3 separate regions of the Homo sapiens genome follow, and all the other regions are linked to region 1. The links are contacts of gene promoters, found by promoter capture Hi-C in blood cells and fetal thymus (Javierre and others, 2016). All regions are on one chromosome and are shown on one strand. Each heading gives the region's core, a stretch centred on a gene start or on the middle of the fragment in contact. The rest is flanking DNA. Distances are from core to core; before and after follow the strand shown.

What was found. The method cuts DNA at HindIII sites, captures the fragments that hold promoters and counts their contacts. A CHiCAGO score of 5 or more calls a contact.
Region 2: a contact is called between a fragment that was not itself captured here and the fragment with the promoter of PADI4 in region 1, in 1 of 17 cell types (neutrophils). The highest score is 6.5, in neutrophils.
Region 3: a contact is called between a fragment that was not itself captured here and the fragment with the promoter of PADI4 in region 1, in 1 of 17 cell types (neutrophils). The highest score is 9.7, in neutrophils.

The regions. Positions count from the first base shown.
Region 1 is chr1:17,305,818-17,310,931 of GRCh38, reverse strand. It overlaps PADI4 (peptidyl arginine deiminase 4), which reads right to left and starts at 2,735. Exons shown (of 16, transcript NM_012387.3): 1 at 2,618-2,735. The coding sequence starts at 2,709. The HindIII fragment of the contact is 10,543 bases long and covers 2,328-5,114 here.
Region 2 is chr1:17,004,799-17,009,912 of GRCh38, reverse strand. It overlaps ATP13A2 (ATPase cation transporting 13A2), which reads left to right. Exons shown (of 29, transcript NM_022089.4): 2 at 4,135-4,229; 3 at 4,357-4,539; 4 at 4,841-4,899; 5 at 5,092-5,114. Among named protein-coding and RNA genes, the nearest start is that of ATP13A2, 4.6 kb to the left of the region's middle. The HindIII fragment of the contact is 8,825 bases long and covers 1-5,114 here.
Region 3 is chr1:17,033,650-17,038,763 of GRCh38, reverse strand. The region is part of intron 2 of SDHB (succinate dehydrogenase complex iron sulfur subunit B); the gene reads left to right. Among named protein-coding and RNA genes, the nearest start is that of SDHB, 18 kb to the left of the region's middle. The HindIII fragment of the contact is 3,780 bases long and covers 233-4,012 here.

The sequences.
Region 1 (5,114 bases), core at 1,486-3,985:
AGAGACGGCGTTTCACCATGTTAGCCAGGATGGTCTCGATCTCCTGACCTTGTGATCCGCCTGCCTCGGCCTCCCAAAGTGCTGGGATTACAGATGTGAGCCATTGCGCCCCGTCTAATTTTTTTGTATTTTTAGTAGAGACGGGGTTTCCCCATGTTGGCCAGGCTGGTCTCGAAATTCTGACCACAAGTGATTTGCCCATCTTGGCCTCTCAAAGTGCTGGGATTACAGGCATAAGCCACCGTGCCCAGCTTGCCACCTTTAATTTATGTGACCCTCGGTTAGGTGTTTTTGCCTCTTTTTTTTTGAGACAGAGTCTTACTCTGTCACCCAGGCTGGAGTGCACTAGCCCAATCTTGGCTCACTGCAACCTCTGCCTCCCGGGTTCCTGACTTTGGGGACAGAGAGAATGGCTTGAGCAAAGTTATGGAGGCATGAATATGAGGGGCGGAGGTGAGGAGGGAGTGGCCCTCCCACCTGTGTGGTTCAGGAAGAGGCCGATGGCTGCTCAGGAGATGGGAGGGAGGCGCTGTCTGGGGCTATGTTAAGAACAGATAAGAAGTGACAGGAAGGTCTGGAACGGAGACCCATGGGGAGAATGGAGGGTCCTAGAGTCAGGCTGCCTGGGTTGAGTCCTGGCTCCCCTACTTATTAGCTGTGTGGCTTGAGGTGGGTTACTTAACTTCTTGGAGCCTCTGTTTCCTCTTTTGTAAAATGGGAATAACAACATTACCTGCCTCCCAAGGCCATTGAATGAGTTGAATGTAGGAAGTGTGATGTAAATATTAGCCATTGTTACGTGAGATGTTCAGGGGATAGAGTGACAGGCTCAACGTGTGGCTGAAGGAGGAGAAAAGAAGGATTTAGAGGCCCCTGTGAACTCCGGAGTCCCCATCCTTTCTGGGAGAAATGGGCAGTGCCTTCCTCTCTGCCCAACACTGACCAGCTGTCCACCCACCTCTCTAGGGCCAGAGGAAGCACTTGTGATCTTGATTACTACTCATGGACGCTGGGTAGAGGGCTAGCCTGGGCATGCTGGGAGAGGCCCTGGGCTAGCTTCAGCTCCTGTCATTTCCTTCACACCCATTCTCAGAGGAGTTGGGGGCGCCTCAGATGATGTCAGGTGATTTTCTTTTTCCTTTTCTCCCCAACTTCTTGGTCTCCTGCCTCCACCATGTGGCCCTGGGAGACCATCCCGACATTTCCTGCTGTTCTCTGGCTGCTGGGGCTCAGGCAGTAGCAAAGAAATGTCCCCGGCACTCCTGTGGGCACCATTCTAGGGCCACCGATGCCCAGACTGGGATGGGGAAGCCAGGGGCAACCACTCCTATTCCTGACAACAGCAATTGTTGCAGGATAATTTAGGAATCAGAGAGACCGAGGGGTTGAGGAGGATTTATTATTTAGATTCACTGGCTCAGTCAGGCTAACATTTCAAAAGACTGAGCCCTGAACAAAGAGTTAAGTTATCTTTTAAGCATTTCATGGGGCGGGGGTAGATCTGTGCAGGGGGAAGCATATTATAGAGGCAAGAAACAAAGACAGTTATTTAATTGAGACATGCATTATATTATTTTTTACTTTTTAAGGAAAAAAATTTTTACAGCTTGAGTTTATCTGTCTAGTGACCTTGCAGCTGCACAGCTGGAGAAACAGGGTCTTTACAATGCCTGGAAAAAGAGGAGCAATAAGGCTCACTAGCCACAAAAAAACAGGCAGTTAATTTTTAAGGGACTCCAGCTCTTTTTTTTTTTTTTTTCCAGGGAAAATTGTTTTTTTTTTTTTTAACATAGAACTGAGTTTTTGCTTACACGTTTTAAAATTTCTTTTAATTCCTGTTCTACAATAACAACAATGACCCTGCACACTCCCCGAGAGCATTCCTCAACTCTCTTGTTTAACCCAGACCCTGCCACAGAGCATGGCACTCAGCATTTGTTAAATGAGTAAATAAAAACTACCAAGGATGGGCCCACCACTGTGCTAAGTACTCAGCCAACATCTGCACATTTTTTCACATTGAATTCCTATAACCAGCCCATGATGTGAGTATTATCCCCATTTCACAGATGAGGCAACTGAGGCTCAGTTGCCCAAGGCCTCCTTGCTAGCCAGCAGCAGGTCCAGGCTTCCTACCTCAGTCTCTGCCGCCACAGAGCCCCGTTTCGCCATCCCCACCCACGCTATTATGCACCCACTGAGGGAGGCTTAGCTAAGAGATGTGGGGTAACAAACTGTGCTGTGAACCAGGAGGCCCAGGGGCTAACCTTACTTCCAGGGCACACGTGCTGTGTGACCTTGAGCAAGTCACAGACTCTCTGTAAGCTTCTGTTGCCTCGATGAAGACAGGGAGATGGATGGCCTGGTTTGCCCCATAATAATTTATCTGTCGTGTGTTCCTGGGGAATTTGCACTTGTACATGGCAAAGAACCCACAGCCATGAGACTGGCACTTCCCAGGGCTGCTGGGGTCTTCTCTCTCCAGCTACTCCCCTGGCAGTGGCTGCAGAGGCTGGAGCCTAGAGCCTGGGCCAAACACATGCTCCTGTGTCAGTAGAACTGGGTCATCCAGCATCTCCTGACCTGCCTCCAAAACCCCAGAAGGCCCCCCTCTTACCTGCAGATGTCAAGCTGAGTCAAGGTGCCCAGCACACACACGGCATGGGTGGGCTGCTCTGGGGTCACACGGATCAATGTCCCCTGGGCCATCGTCGGGCTAGCTCGTCCCTCTGGCTGTAGGAAGCCCCTGGGCTGGTTCCTTTATATCGCCCAGCAGAGGCCATGAGTCAGCACCTGCGGTCTGTGGCCCAGAGGCTCAACCCCTCCCCACTCAGGTCAGGGGTGTGGGCTCTCAAAATCTCCTCTGCCCTGGGGCTGCCCCTCGGACCTCTAGATGGGTGTCAATGCTGGTACCAGTGGCAGGGTGGCTCTGTCAGTTTCTTGGGAAGGATGGATGGCTCAGAAAGCCTGGGGTGGAGAGTGGGGCTGAGGGGTTGGGTCCTGGTCCTCATGCCCACAGTCCCATCCCTGCCTAGAGGCCCTGAACACCTTGATCTATCCAATCTCACCTATGTCAAACAGGCATATCAGAGAGGAGAAGGTGGGAAAAGCGGGGAGATTTTAGGTAAGCAGTCACAGGCCAGGCTACACGTTCAAAGACCAACCAGGCTTGGGACAAGTCTCTCCACCTGGGCCACCCACATGACAGCTCACATTCTCTATGCCAGGCACGTTTTCCTGCACTTCACATAGAATAGCTCATTACGACAAACCCGTGAACTAGATCATACCATTATCCCCTTATTTCACCCTCACAGCAGCCCTCTGAGGTTGGTGCCATTATTATACCCATTTTACAGAGGAGAAAACAGAGGTGCAGTTCTTCCACAGCTCGAGAGTGGTAGGGCCAGAATTGGAACCAAAGGTGTCCAGTTCCAGAGTGTGAGATTCATTAGCTGCCTGTCTATATGACACGTGCTTTCCAGACTGTATCACAGCTACATCTCGCTACAATACAAGGTGTATATGGGCTTATTATTACAACCCATTTTACAGAAGGAAAATTGAGGCTCAGAGAGTAAAAGTGACTAGCTCTTGCCCAAGGTGCCAGAGCTAGAATGCGGCAGAGCTGGGAAGAGAAGATGAGCTTCCTGGCATGGAAGTTGATGTTCTCTGCATGCTCCAGGATACCTGCCTCTTGCCAGGGCCTCTGGGTGTCAGACCAGACAGTGCAGGTGTGGGCCACGCCTGCCAGGGGGATGCCCATGTGGCCTCAGAGCTGTGGTTGCACCTGGGCCATTGGTGCCAGGCTCTGCCTTTAATGAGGCAACTGGGGGGTGGTGGATGGGTCCCAACAAGGAGCACTCAAAGGGTGCATGCATGGGAGTCTGGCGTGAACATAGAGCGTTTCGTGGGTTGGATATCTTGCGTTTGTTTTTTGTTTGCTTGCTTTGGCTTTGAAGCAAAGAATTTGCCTCATTAATTCAGAGTCAGGCTGTGGGATCAAACAGGCTTTAGTTCAAATCCTGCCTCATCTCAACATCCCTATGGAGTGCGTCCTATCAGGATGCCCATGTGTAGATGAGACCACAAAGACTTAGAGAGATTGAGTGAGACCCCCAAGGTCTCATAAGCCCTACAGTGGGGATCTGGATTCAGACCACCTTCTCTGGGCTCAAAATTTATCTTCTGTACCAGCAGATGATGATGTGGCCAGGTCCGACGTTCTGACGCATCTACATGACTGCCTGCACACAGTGTTAATAAACCCAATTTCTCTGGCTGACCGCATGATTAGAACTAGTTTGAGCTTCTACTGGGAAGTGGCAGGAGGGAGCTGTCCATTGTTAGAGTTGGGAGGGCCCTTAGAGAACACCCAATCCAGTCCTCGTTTTGCAGAAGGGGAGACTGAAGCACAGAAAGGGAGTGGGACCTGCCCACGGTCACACAGCAAATCAGAGGGAGGGCTGGCCTCTACCCCAAGTCTTAGGTCTCTTGAGGTTGTTTTCTTCTGTTCCTTCTTTTCTTTCTTATTTTCTTCAGCAGTTTGGGGTTTAAATTTGCTGTGAACGAGCCACAAAGAGGACGAGCCCCAAAGCAGTTTTGTTAATTCAACAAATACTGACTGAGTGCCTATTGATGGCCAGGCACTGTTCCAGGCACCGTGGATACGCTGTGAACAAAGTGGACAAAAATCCTGCCTTCATAGAGCCTTTTTGTTTGTTTGTTTTTGTTGGGAGAGAGACAGCCAGTAAGCAATAAATGCAGTAAGTGGATTCTATCGTATGTTAGTGGGGTAGAAAAAGGAAAAAGGACAGGGTAAAGGCTACCAGGAACACAGGGAGAAGGTTCCAAGTCAAGAGAACAGCCAGTGCAATCGGTACAAAGGCCCTGAGGCAGGGACATGCCTGGCGGGTTCAAGAAAGAGCAAAGAGGCCAGTGTGGCTGAAATGCAGTGAGGGAGGGGGAGAGCAGCCCAGGGCGGGGTGCGATCATATAGGGCCTTTCGGGCATCCTAAGAGCTTTGGCCTCTGCTCCAAGTAACGTGGGGAGCCTGGAGTCATTTTGAGCAGAGAAGGACCGCGAACCAACTTGCTTGAACGTGATCACTCTGG
Region 2 (5,114 bases), core at 2,615-5,114, 300 kb after region 1:
TCCCTGCAGGGAGGGGCTCTGGAGGTTTCCACAGCTGTGACTTCCTCCCTCAAGTTCCACTCCCCTTTTCCTCTTTGCCAAGGTTGACTGAGAGAGTGTCATTGTGAAGTGACAGTCATACGATTGCCATGAGGAAGAACTTCCCAGGGGGACCGCTGTTTACATACTGGGGACTCTGCCCTCTTTTTGAAGAACCTTTTCTTCATAAAGAGTCTTGAGGCCGGGTGTGGTGGCTCACACCTGTAATCCCAGCACTTTGGGAGGCTGAGGTAGGAGGATCAGCATGAGGCCGGGAGTTCAAGATCAGCCTGGGCAACAAAATGAGACCCTGTCCCTACTAAAAAAAAATTAGCCTGGTGCAGTGGCACCTGCCTGTAGTGCCAGCTACTTGGGAGGCAGAGGCAAGAGTACCTCCTTTAGCCTAGGAGGTCAAGGCTCCAGTGAGCTAGGATCATGCCACTGTGCTCCAGCCTGGGTGACAGAGTGAGACCCTGTCTCTTTTAAAAAAAAAAAAAAAAAAAAAAAGGAAGAGGCTCAAGCCCCTCCCCCCAACTCCCAGCACCTTTGCCTTCAAGCTCTGTTGTGTCCAAGAGACAGACATTCATTCATTCAGTCAGTCGGTCAATCAGTGTTTCCTGACCCCTGAGCACATGGCAGGTACTGTGAGCAGTAAGGGCAGTGACACCCATCTGAGCCTGATGCTGAGGGGAATGTCAGGAGTAGATGTGCTGGGCAGAGAGGACCTGGGAGTAAGGCCAGCCCTGTTCCAGCTTTGAGACAAGTCTGAGGGCAACTGCCCCAGAGGCTCAGTGCTCTCGTTTGTCAAACTGGGTAAGAGAGCCCACCTTGTGGGTTGGTGCGGGAGGAAATCAAATCAGCACCGCAGGGATGGCTCCTTTCCCATCATCCCTGAGCCCGCTGGGCTGTTGGCCTGAGGGTTTTTTTTTTTTTTTTTGAGTCTTGCTCTGTCACCCTGGCTGGAGTGCAGTGGCGTGATCTCAGCTCACTGCAAGCTCCACCTTCTGGGTTCACACCATTCTCCCGCCTCAGCCTCCCAAGTAGCTGGGACTACAGGCGCCTGCCACCACGCCCGGCTAATTTGGTTTTTATATTTTTAGTAGAGACAGGGTTTCACCGTGTTAGCCAGGATGGTCTCAGCTAGTCTCCACCTCCTGACCTCGTGATCCGCCCCCCTTGGGCTCCCAAAGGGCTGGGATTACAGGCGTGAGCCACTGCGCACGGCCGGCCTGAGGGTTTTAAGGTACAAGGAGCAACTGTTGAATGGGCCTAGGGAGCCGTGGGACAGCCAGGGCTTCAGACAGGGTGATGTGAAAGGAGAAGAGAGCCTGGGAAATGGATAAGCAGAAGCCACGCCCCCCTGACCTGGGAGCCGGGTCCTGCCCACCTGTCCACGCAACCCCCCCAGGAACTTCAAATGCTTCTACCTCCCTGTGTGCTGGATGCTTCGGGACTATCATCCTAGAGATGAGAAATGGAAGCCCAGAGAGGCAAAGGCACTTGCTGTATGAAACACAGCATCAAAAAAGAAATTCTTAGGAACAAATGATGGGCAAAAAGACAAAACCCTGTCTCTACAAAAAAAATTAGCTGGGCATGGTGGCCTGTGCCTGTAGTCCCAGCTATTTGGAGGCTGAGGTGGGAGAATTGCTTGAGCCTGGGAGGTCAAGGCTGCAGTGAGCTATGATCGCAACACTGCACTCCAGCCTGGGTGACAGAGAGAGACTGTCTCAAAAAAAGACTTATACACGAAAACTGTAAGCTGGGCATGGTGGCTCACGCCTGTAATCCCAGCACTTTGGGAAGCCGAGGCTACAAGAGTGATAAGTAAATAAATGAATGAATGAATGAATGAAAGGACATCACAACCGAGGTTACCTGGCAGGGTTGATACGTTAGCCATGTACCCTGTGCACAGTGAGCCCTCTAGGAGTGTTGAAGCCAGAGTGCTTGGGGATGGGGCTGCTCAGAGGCTGGGGGTGCTGTGCCCACAGCAGCTGCCTGGGGCACTCTGGACTCTTTGGGTAGAAATTTTAGAAGGGCTCGCCGGGCGCTGTGGCTCACGCCTGTAATCCCAGCACTTTGGGAGGCCGAGGCGGGCGGATCACGAGGTCGGGAGATCGAGACCATCCTGGCTAACACGGTGAAACCCCATCTCTACTAAAAATACAAAAAATTAGCCGGGCGTGGTGGCGGGCGCCTGTAGTCCCAGCTACTTGGGAGGCTGAGGCAGGAGAATGGTGTGAACCCGGAAGGCAGAGCTTGCAGTGAGCCGAGATCGCGCCACTGCACTCCAGCCTGGGTGACAGAGCGAGACTCGCTCTCAAAAAAAAAAAAAAAAAAAGGAAAAATTTTAGAAGGGCTCAGATTGGGGGATGAAGGAGGGAGCCCAGAAAATCAGCAGCCTACCCCGCACCCGCCCAGCTTTTCCAGCTTAGTGAGCTTTTTCAGAGGCTCTTGTGAAACCACAGATGCCTAGCACCATCCCTACCCCGGCCTGAGGAGTTGATCCAGCCAGTCTGGGGAGGGCCCTGGCATCTGCATATGTAAAAGGTGCTCCAGGTGGTCTGGGACCGTAGATGAACCCTGACAGAGGCTGTCCAAGGGTGGGGCTGGTGAGCTCTACCCGCTCTGGAGCCCCAGAACATCCACTGGCTGCCTGCCCTGCTAAGGCCACAGCTCTACAGCACAGGAGGAAGGAGTGAAAAGAATGTCTGTGGCCGGGCGCAGTGGCTCAGCCTGTCAGCCCAGCACTCAGGGAGGCAAGGCGGGTGGATCACCTGAGGTCGGCAGTTTGAGACCACCCTGACCAGCATGGTGAAACCCCGTCTCTACTGAAAATACAAAACTTAGCTGGGCGCCTGTAATCCCAGCTACTCGGGAGGCTGAGGCAGGATAATCGCTTGAACCTGGGAGGCAGAGGTTGTAGTGAGCCGAGATCATGCCATTGTATTCCAGACTGGGCGACAGAGCAAGACTTCATCTCAAAAAAAAAAGAATATCTGCAATAGAACCACCTGATACCATTCCCCAAGTCTCAGTTTACCCATCTGTAAAGATAGGCCTGCAGGGCTGACCGTTTATTAGTCCAGACTTGACTTTGCATCTCCTCACTGCCAGACCTGGGCTGGGCACGGGCATGGAATGAAGATAAGCATCCCTGACCCCTGCCCTCAGGGTGGGGACTGGATGAGGATAGAAAAGTGAGACCCAGAGCTCCAAGGAAGCTAATGGCTGGATGCACGAGCACCATGGGGGCTTGGGGCACTGTCCAGGCCCCATTCTCCAATTCTGGGCCATACCCAGCAGAAAGACCGACACACGCAAGGAAACAAGACACTACTGGCCAAGCACGGTGGCTCATGCCTGTAATCCCAGCACTTTGGGAGGCCAAAGTGGGCAGATCACTTGAGGTCAGGAGTTCGAGACCAGCCTGGCCAACATGGTGAAACCCCATCTCTACTAAAAATACAAAAATTAGCTGGGCATGGTGGTGCATGCCTATAATCCCAGCTACTCGGGAGGCTGAGGCAGGAGAATCGCTTGAACCTGGGAGGCAAAGGTTGCAGTGAGCTGAGATCAAGTGACTGCACTCCAGCCTGGGTGACAGAGTGACACTCCGTCTCAAAAAAAAAAAAAAGATACGGTAAGTAAGAACCGACGGAAAGAAGAGCCAGATAAAGGACACAGGAAGACATGAGCTTTGGGCTCTGTCAGACCAGGTGCTTACTGTTTTGTGTTTTGTTTTGTTTAGTTTTTTGAGATGGAGTCTCACTCTGTTGCTCAGGCAGGGGTGCAGTGGTGTGATCTTGCCTCACTGCAACCTCTACCTCCCAGGTTCAAGTGATTCCCCTGCCTCAGCCTCCTGAGTAGCTGAGATTACAGGCACGCGCTGCCACGCCCGGCTAATTTTTTTTATTTTTAGTAGAGATGGGTTTCACCATGTTAGCCAGGTTGATCTCGAACTTCTAACCTCAGGTGATCCACCCGCCTCGGCCTCCCAAAGTGCTGGGATTACAGGCGTGAGCCACCGCGCCCAGGCTGATGTTTATTGTTTTTAAGGAAGCAAGAGGAGAAGGTGCCTCCCCAAATGACCTTTCTCTTTTCTGTCCACAGACAGCAGCCCTCTCGTGGGCAGCACGCCCACCGGTTATGGGACCCTGACGATAGGGACATCAATAGATCCCCTCAGCTCCTCAGTTTCATCCGTGGTAAGTGGGCAGAGTGGGGTGGGGAAAAGCTGCAGGGGGTGAATGCCCAGGCCCACCCAGACACCCCAACTTCCTACTCCAGCCCCGTTCCCACCCCGACCTGGGCCCTCTCTCGCTGCGTTCGCAGAGGCTCAGCGGCTACTGTGGCAGTCCATGGAGGGTCATCGGCTATCACGTCGTGGTCTGGATGATGGCTGGGATCCCTTTGCTGCTCTTCCGTTGGAAGCCCCTGTGGGGGGTGCGGCTGCGGCTCCGGCCCTGCAACCTGGCCCACGCCGAAACACTCGTTATCGAAATAAGAGACAAAGAGGTGAGAGTCAGGCTGAGCCTGGGGCTAGAGAAGCGCAGTGAGGGTCAGGGTCGGGGGTGGAGGATGCTTGGGTGCCAACCCGGCCACTGACTTTCCATGGGACATTAGGCAGGTCCCGCTCTTCTCTGGACCTCAGCTTTCCCATCTGAGCATTGGGCAGAAGGGACGGGTCGGGTGGTTTCTGGAGGGCTCTCCATAGCCTTGATTTCTGCCTTCTCCAGCAGGGGCCGCCTGGCTGTAGGACAGGGCCTGGGAGGGGAGGGGACTCTTCTGAGACTGAGTCCATACCTCTGTGTTCCAGGATAGTTCCTGGCAGCTCTTCACTGTCCAGGTGCAGACTGAGGCCATCGGCGAGGGCAGGTGAGGCAGCCCCATTGCCCCTTCCCAGAAGCCCCTGCTACCCTGGCCTCCCCAACTTCCCCAACCCTCGGCCCCCCCATAAAGGCTGACTCTGGCGCCTCCCATCCTAGGGAGGGAAGATGGCTCTGTGAGCACAGGGAGGTGCCAGGGCAGCTCCCAGAGCTCGAGAGTAACCCTCACCTGCTTCCCCAGCCTGGAGCCGTCCCCACAGTCCC
Region 3 (5,114 bases), core at 873-3,372, 270 kb after region 1:
AATTTTACTTAAATAATAACTGCTAATAGGAAAAGAAGGGAACTTCATCAGCCAGATGAAGACTGTGAAAATCACAGCTAATAGCATACTTTATTGTGAGATATTGAACACTTTCCCCATAAGATCAGGAATAAGGAAGGTTGTCCACTCTGTATTTGAGTTCAACATTGTACTGAAGGTTCTAGCCAGTCCATGAAAGGCAAGTAAAAGAAGTAGAAGGCATATGTAAGCTTGGAAAGGAAGAAATTAAACTAACTGTAGTCACAGGTAACATGATTGTTTACATAGAAAATTTCAGGGAGTCTACAAAACTAAAAGAATAAGTAAATTTAGCAAGGCTGCAGGATGTAAGGTCAATATGCAAAATACTATTTGTGTGTGTGTGTATTTCAATGGCTACAGATAATTCTATTTATGCTAACATCAGCCATTCAAAATTTTACTGGAGGCTTAGCCAGGGAAATTGGGTGAGAAAAAGAAAGAAAAGGAAATTGGAAAAGAAGAAGTAAAACTGTCTCTCATAGATAACATAATCTTTTACACAAAACCTTGGGCAGGCTCAGTGGCTTGTGCTTATAATCCCAGCATTTTGGAAGGCTGAAGCAGGAGAATTTTTTTTTTTTGAGACAGAGTTTTCGCTCTTGTTGCCCAGGCTGGAGTGCAATGGCACAATCTTGGCTCACCGCAACCTCCGCCTCCCGGATTCAAGCAATTCTCCTGTCTCAGCTTCCCAAGTAGCTGGGATTACAGGCGCCTGCCACTACGCCCAGCTAATTCTTTTGTATTTTTGGTGGAGATGGGGTTTCTGCGTGTTGGTCAGGCTGGTCTCGAACTCCTGACCTCAGGTGATCTGCCCACCTCGGCCTCCCAAAGTGCTGGGATTGCAGGTGTGAGCCACTGTGCCTGGCCTGAAGCAGGAGAATTGCTTGAGCCTGGGAGTTGGAGACCAGCCTGGGCAACAAAATGAGACCCCCATCTCTACAAAAAAGCAAACAAAAAATTAGCCAGGCTGGGTGCGATGGCTCACGCCTGTAATCCCAACATTCTGAGAGGCCAAAGCAGGCAGATGACTTGAGTCCAGGAGTTCAAGACCACCCTGGACAACATGGCAAAACCCTGTCTCTACTAAAAATACAAAAATTAGCCAGGCATGGTAGCACACACCTGTAATCCCAGCTTCTTGGAAGGCTAAGGCACAAGAATTGCTTGAACCTAGGTGGCAGAGGTTGCAGTGAGCCAAGATCACGCCACTGCACTCCAGCCTGGGCAACAGAGCAAGACTGTGTCTCAAAAAATTTGCCAGGTGTGGTGGCACACTCCTGTAGTCCGAGCTACTTGGGAGGGTGGGGTGGGAGGATCACTTGAACCCAGGAGGTCGAGGCTGCAGTGAGCCATGATTCCATGCCCTACACTCCAGCCTGGGCAACAGAGGGAGACGCTGTCTCAAAAAAAAAAAAGAAAAGAAAATATAAGACATTGCCCCCTAGGAACTATTAGAACTAATGAACAAATTCAGCAAGGTTGGAGGACACAAAACTGGTATACAGAAATCAAATGTAGTTTAGTTTTTTATTATGCATAATTTGTCCATGTTTATTTCAACCTATGTCTGTCAGTCTTCATTTTATATTGTACCATGTTTTAATTATAGTTCTATTTCCTTCTAATCCGACTCTGAAACCCTACTTTGTAGCTATGTATACACACACAAAAAATAGCTATATTCTTTCATTTTCACAACAGCATAATTCTTTTTCTGAAAATACTGGCGTGTAGCAGATATTAGCAGATAAATGTATTTTTCTAGGCTAGGCATGGTGGCTCACACTTGTAATACTAGCACTTTCTTTGTGAGGCCAAGGCAGGAGGATTGCTTGAGGCCAGGAGTTTTGAGACCAGCCTGGGCAACAATAGCAAGACTTAGTCTCTACAGAAAAAATGTGTGTGTGTGTGTGTATACATATATATTTATATATGTATTTATATTTATATATTCATATTTATATAAATATTTATATTTATATATTCATATTTATATAAATATTTATATTTATATATTCATATTTATATAAATATTTATATTTATATATGTAAAACCCTGCTTACCTAGAAAAAAGCCTGTAAGTACTGTTAAAAAAACAAAAATTGGATTTCTATACACTAGCAATGAACAATCCTAAAATGAAATTTAAAAACTATTTTCCATATAACAGCATCAAAAAAGAAATTCTTAGGAACAAATTATATGGGCAATAAGACAAAACCCCATCTCTACAAAAAAAGTTAGCTGGGCTTGATGACCTTCCTGTGCCTATAGTCCCAGCTACTTGGAGGCTGAGGTGGGAGAATCACTTGAGCCTGGGAGGTCAAACCTGCAGTGAGCTGTGATCACAACACTGCACTCCATCCAGCCTGGGCGACAGAGTGAGATCCTGTCTCAAAAATCAAATAAGTAAAAGACTTATATGCTGAAAAACTGTAAAACATTGTTGAAAGAAATTTAAGAAGACATAAATAAATGGAAAGACATGCCCTGTTTGTGGGTTGGAAGACTTAATGTTGTTAAGGAGGCAGTGGTCTCCAAATTGATTTCCAGATTCATTGCAATCCCCATCAAAATCCCACCTGCCTTTTCTGCAGAAGTTGACAAGTTGATTCTAAAAATCTTATAGAAATGCAAGGGACCCAGAATATCAAACAATTTTGGTATCTATGTAAAATCTGAGAAAATTTATGTTGTACTCTTTAATGAGCCCTACCTATTAGGAAATTTAGCATGAAACAGCTTAAAGAGAGGACTTTGACTTTTTAATATTTTTCTCTGTCCCAGTATGATCTGCAGGATTACTTTTTACCTTTGATTTGAATTTATTTATTTATTTATCTATTTATTTATTTATTTTTTTGAGACAGTCTCGCTCTGTCTCCCAGGCTGGAGTGCAGTGGTGCGGTCTCGGCTCACTGCAACCTCCGCCTCTGGGGTTCAAGCAATTTTCCTGCCTCAGCCTCCCAAGTAATTGGGACTACAGGCACGTGCAACCACACCCAGCTAATTTTTTGTATTTTTAGTAGAGACGGTTTCACCACGTTAGCCAGGATGGTCTCAATCTCCTGACCTCATGATCCACCCGCCAAGGCCTCCCAAAGTGCCTCCCAAAGTGCTGGGATTACAGGCGTGAGCCACCCACCTGGCCAATTTGAAATTTTTATAGGCTGCAAATATTAGCCTTTGTAATGTAAAAAAAACAAAGATGTTGTTGTCATTTAAAATATGCTAGGACAAGAACAGGCAGATCATTAGAATAAAAATGTAGCAACAAAACAGACTCAATTTTATCTAAGTTCCCAGTATTAAATATGGGAGAAAGGTATTACAAATAAGAAGCAAAAGAGGATTTAGTCAGTGATTTGGGACAACTGATACAGTTTTTGCAGTTTTAGGGGAGTAACTTAAAATTTTTTTTAAGTAGAAAAAAATGTAAAGTATTTATCAGACCTCAGGAAGGGCAGTGGTCTGTTTAGGCTTAAAAGTGATAGATAATGTTATAAAAGAAAGAATAGCCACCTTTATTAATGTAAACATTTAACTCATGTATGTTTAAAATTCTGTTACCAAAATTAGAAGTCAAATAGCACATTACTATTGGCAGTGAGGGAGGAAGCAGAAATGGCAACAGATATAATATATAAGAGCCTCAGATCATGAAAAAGAATTTCCAAGACCCTGGTAAACAGAGGCAAAGAATGTGGACAGACTGAGTCTCTAGAATGAGTCCTCTGGAACAGAGCTTTGTGCGGGCAGGTGGTATTCGTCTCTTTTATTCTCTGCTACATCCCCAGCATCTAGAACAGAACCTGGCAGAGTAAATGTTCAATAAATAATTGGGAAATAAAGAAAAATTAGTAAATTTATGACAAACATTCAACCTATGTAGTATTCAAAAGTCTCGATTTAAAACACTGAAAACAATAACACTTCTCCAGTATCAGAATAGCAAAGGTTTTTAAAGCTTCCAATTCCCAGTGTTAGCAGAGGTCCAGCAGAAAGGACGTCTACATAGTGCTGATACAAATACAGATAATGGGCCAGACGCAGTCGCTCACACCTGTAATCCCAGCATTTGGGAAGGCTGAGGCAGGTGGATCACTTGAGGTCAGGAGTTTGAGACCAGCCTGGCCAACATGGGAAAACCTATCTCTACTAAAAATACAAAAATTTGCCGGGTGTGGTGGCATGCACCTGTAATCCCAGCTACTCGGGAGGCTGAGGCAGGAGAATCGCTTGAACCCGGAAGGTAGAGGTTGCAGTGAGCCGAGATCGCACCATTGCCTCACACCCATAATCCCAACACTTTGAGAATCCAAGGCAGGAGGATCACTTGAGTCCAGGAGTTAGAGACCAGCCTGGGCAACATGGCGAAATCCCACCTCTACAAAAAAATACAAAAATTAAGCTGGATGTGGTGGCACATACCTGTAGTCCCAGCTACTGGGGGGCTGAGGCAGGAGGATCTCTTGAGGCTGGGATGCGGAGGTTACAGATCTGAGATCGTGCCACTGCACTCCAGCCTGGGTAACAGAGCAAGACCCCGTCTCAAGAAAAAAAAGAAAAAAAATGAAATACAGATAGTACTAAAGGAAATGACGTATTTTTAAGTATATTTTTAATCTCATGCATAGAAAATTAGTGAGTGGAATGGGGGCAGGGTGGCAACCAGAAAATAGATTTGTGGAGCACTTACTGTATGCCAGGTACTATGAAAAATTACATATTTTTATGTAATTTTCACAGTAACCCTGTGGTGTAAATATTAACTCTACAGATAAACTGAGGTTCAGAGAGTAATTTCCGTAGAATCACAGTTTCTGCATGATGATTATTATAGTTAAACTATGATTTATATGTCAGATGCTGCTGTAAAGATCTCGTGTGTATTAACTCACCTCCAGCAATCCTGTGGGATGCAGGTGCTGCTCTCTGCACTCAGTGGATTAAATGCCTAGGCAGAAATTAAATCATTTGCCTGCAAGCTGGTAAGTGGCTCAGCCATGGTGCAGACCAGTCTCTTGGCTGCCAGGCCGGCACTCCAGGTCCCACGCCCAGGGATGCTCCG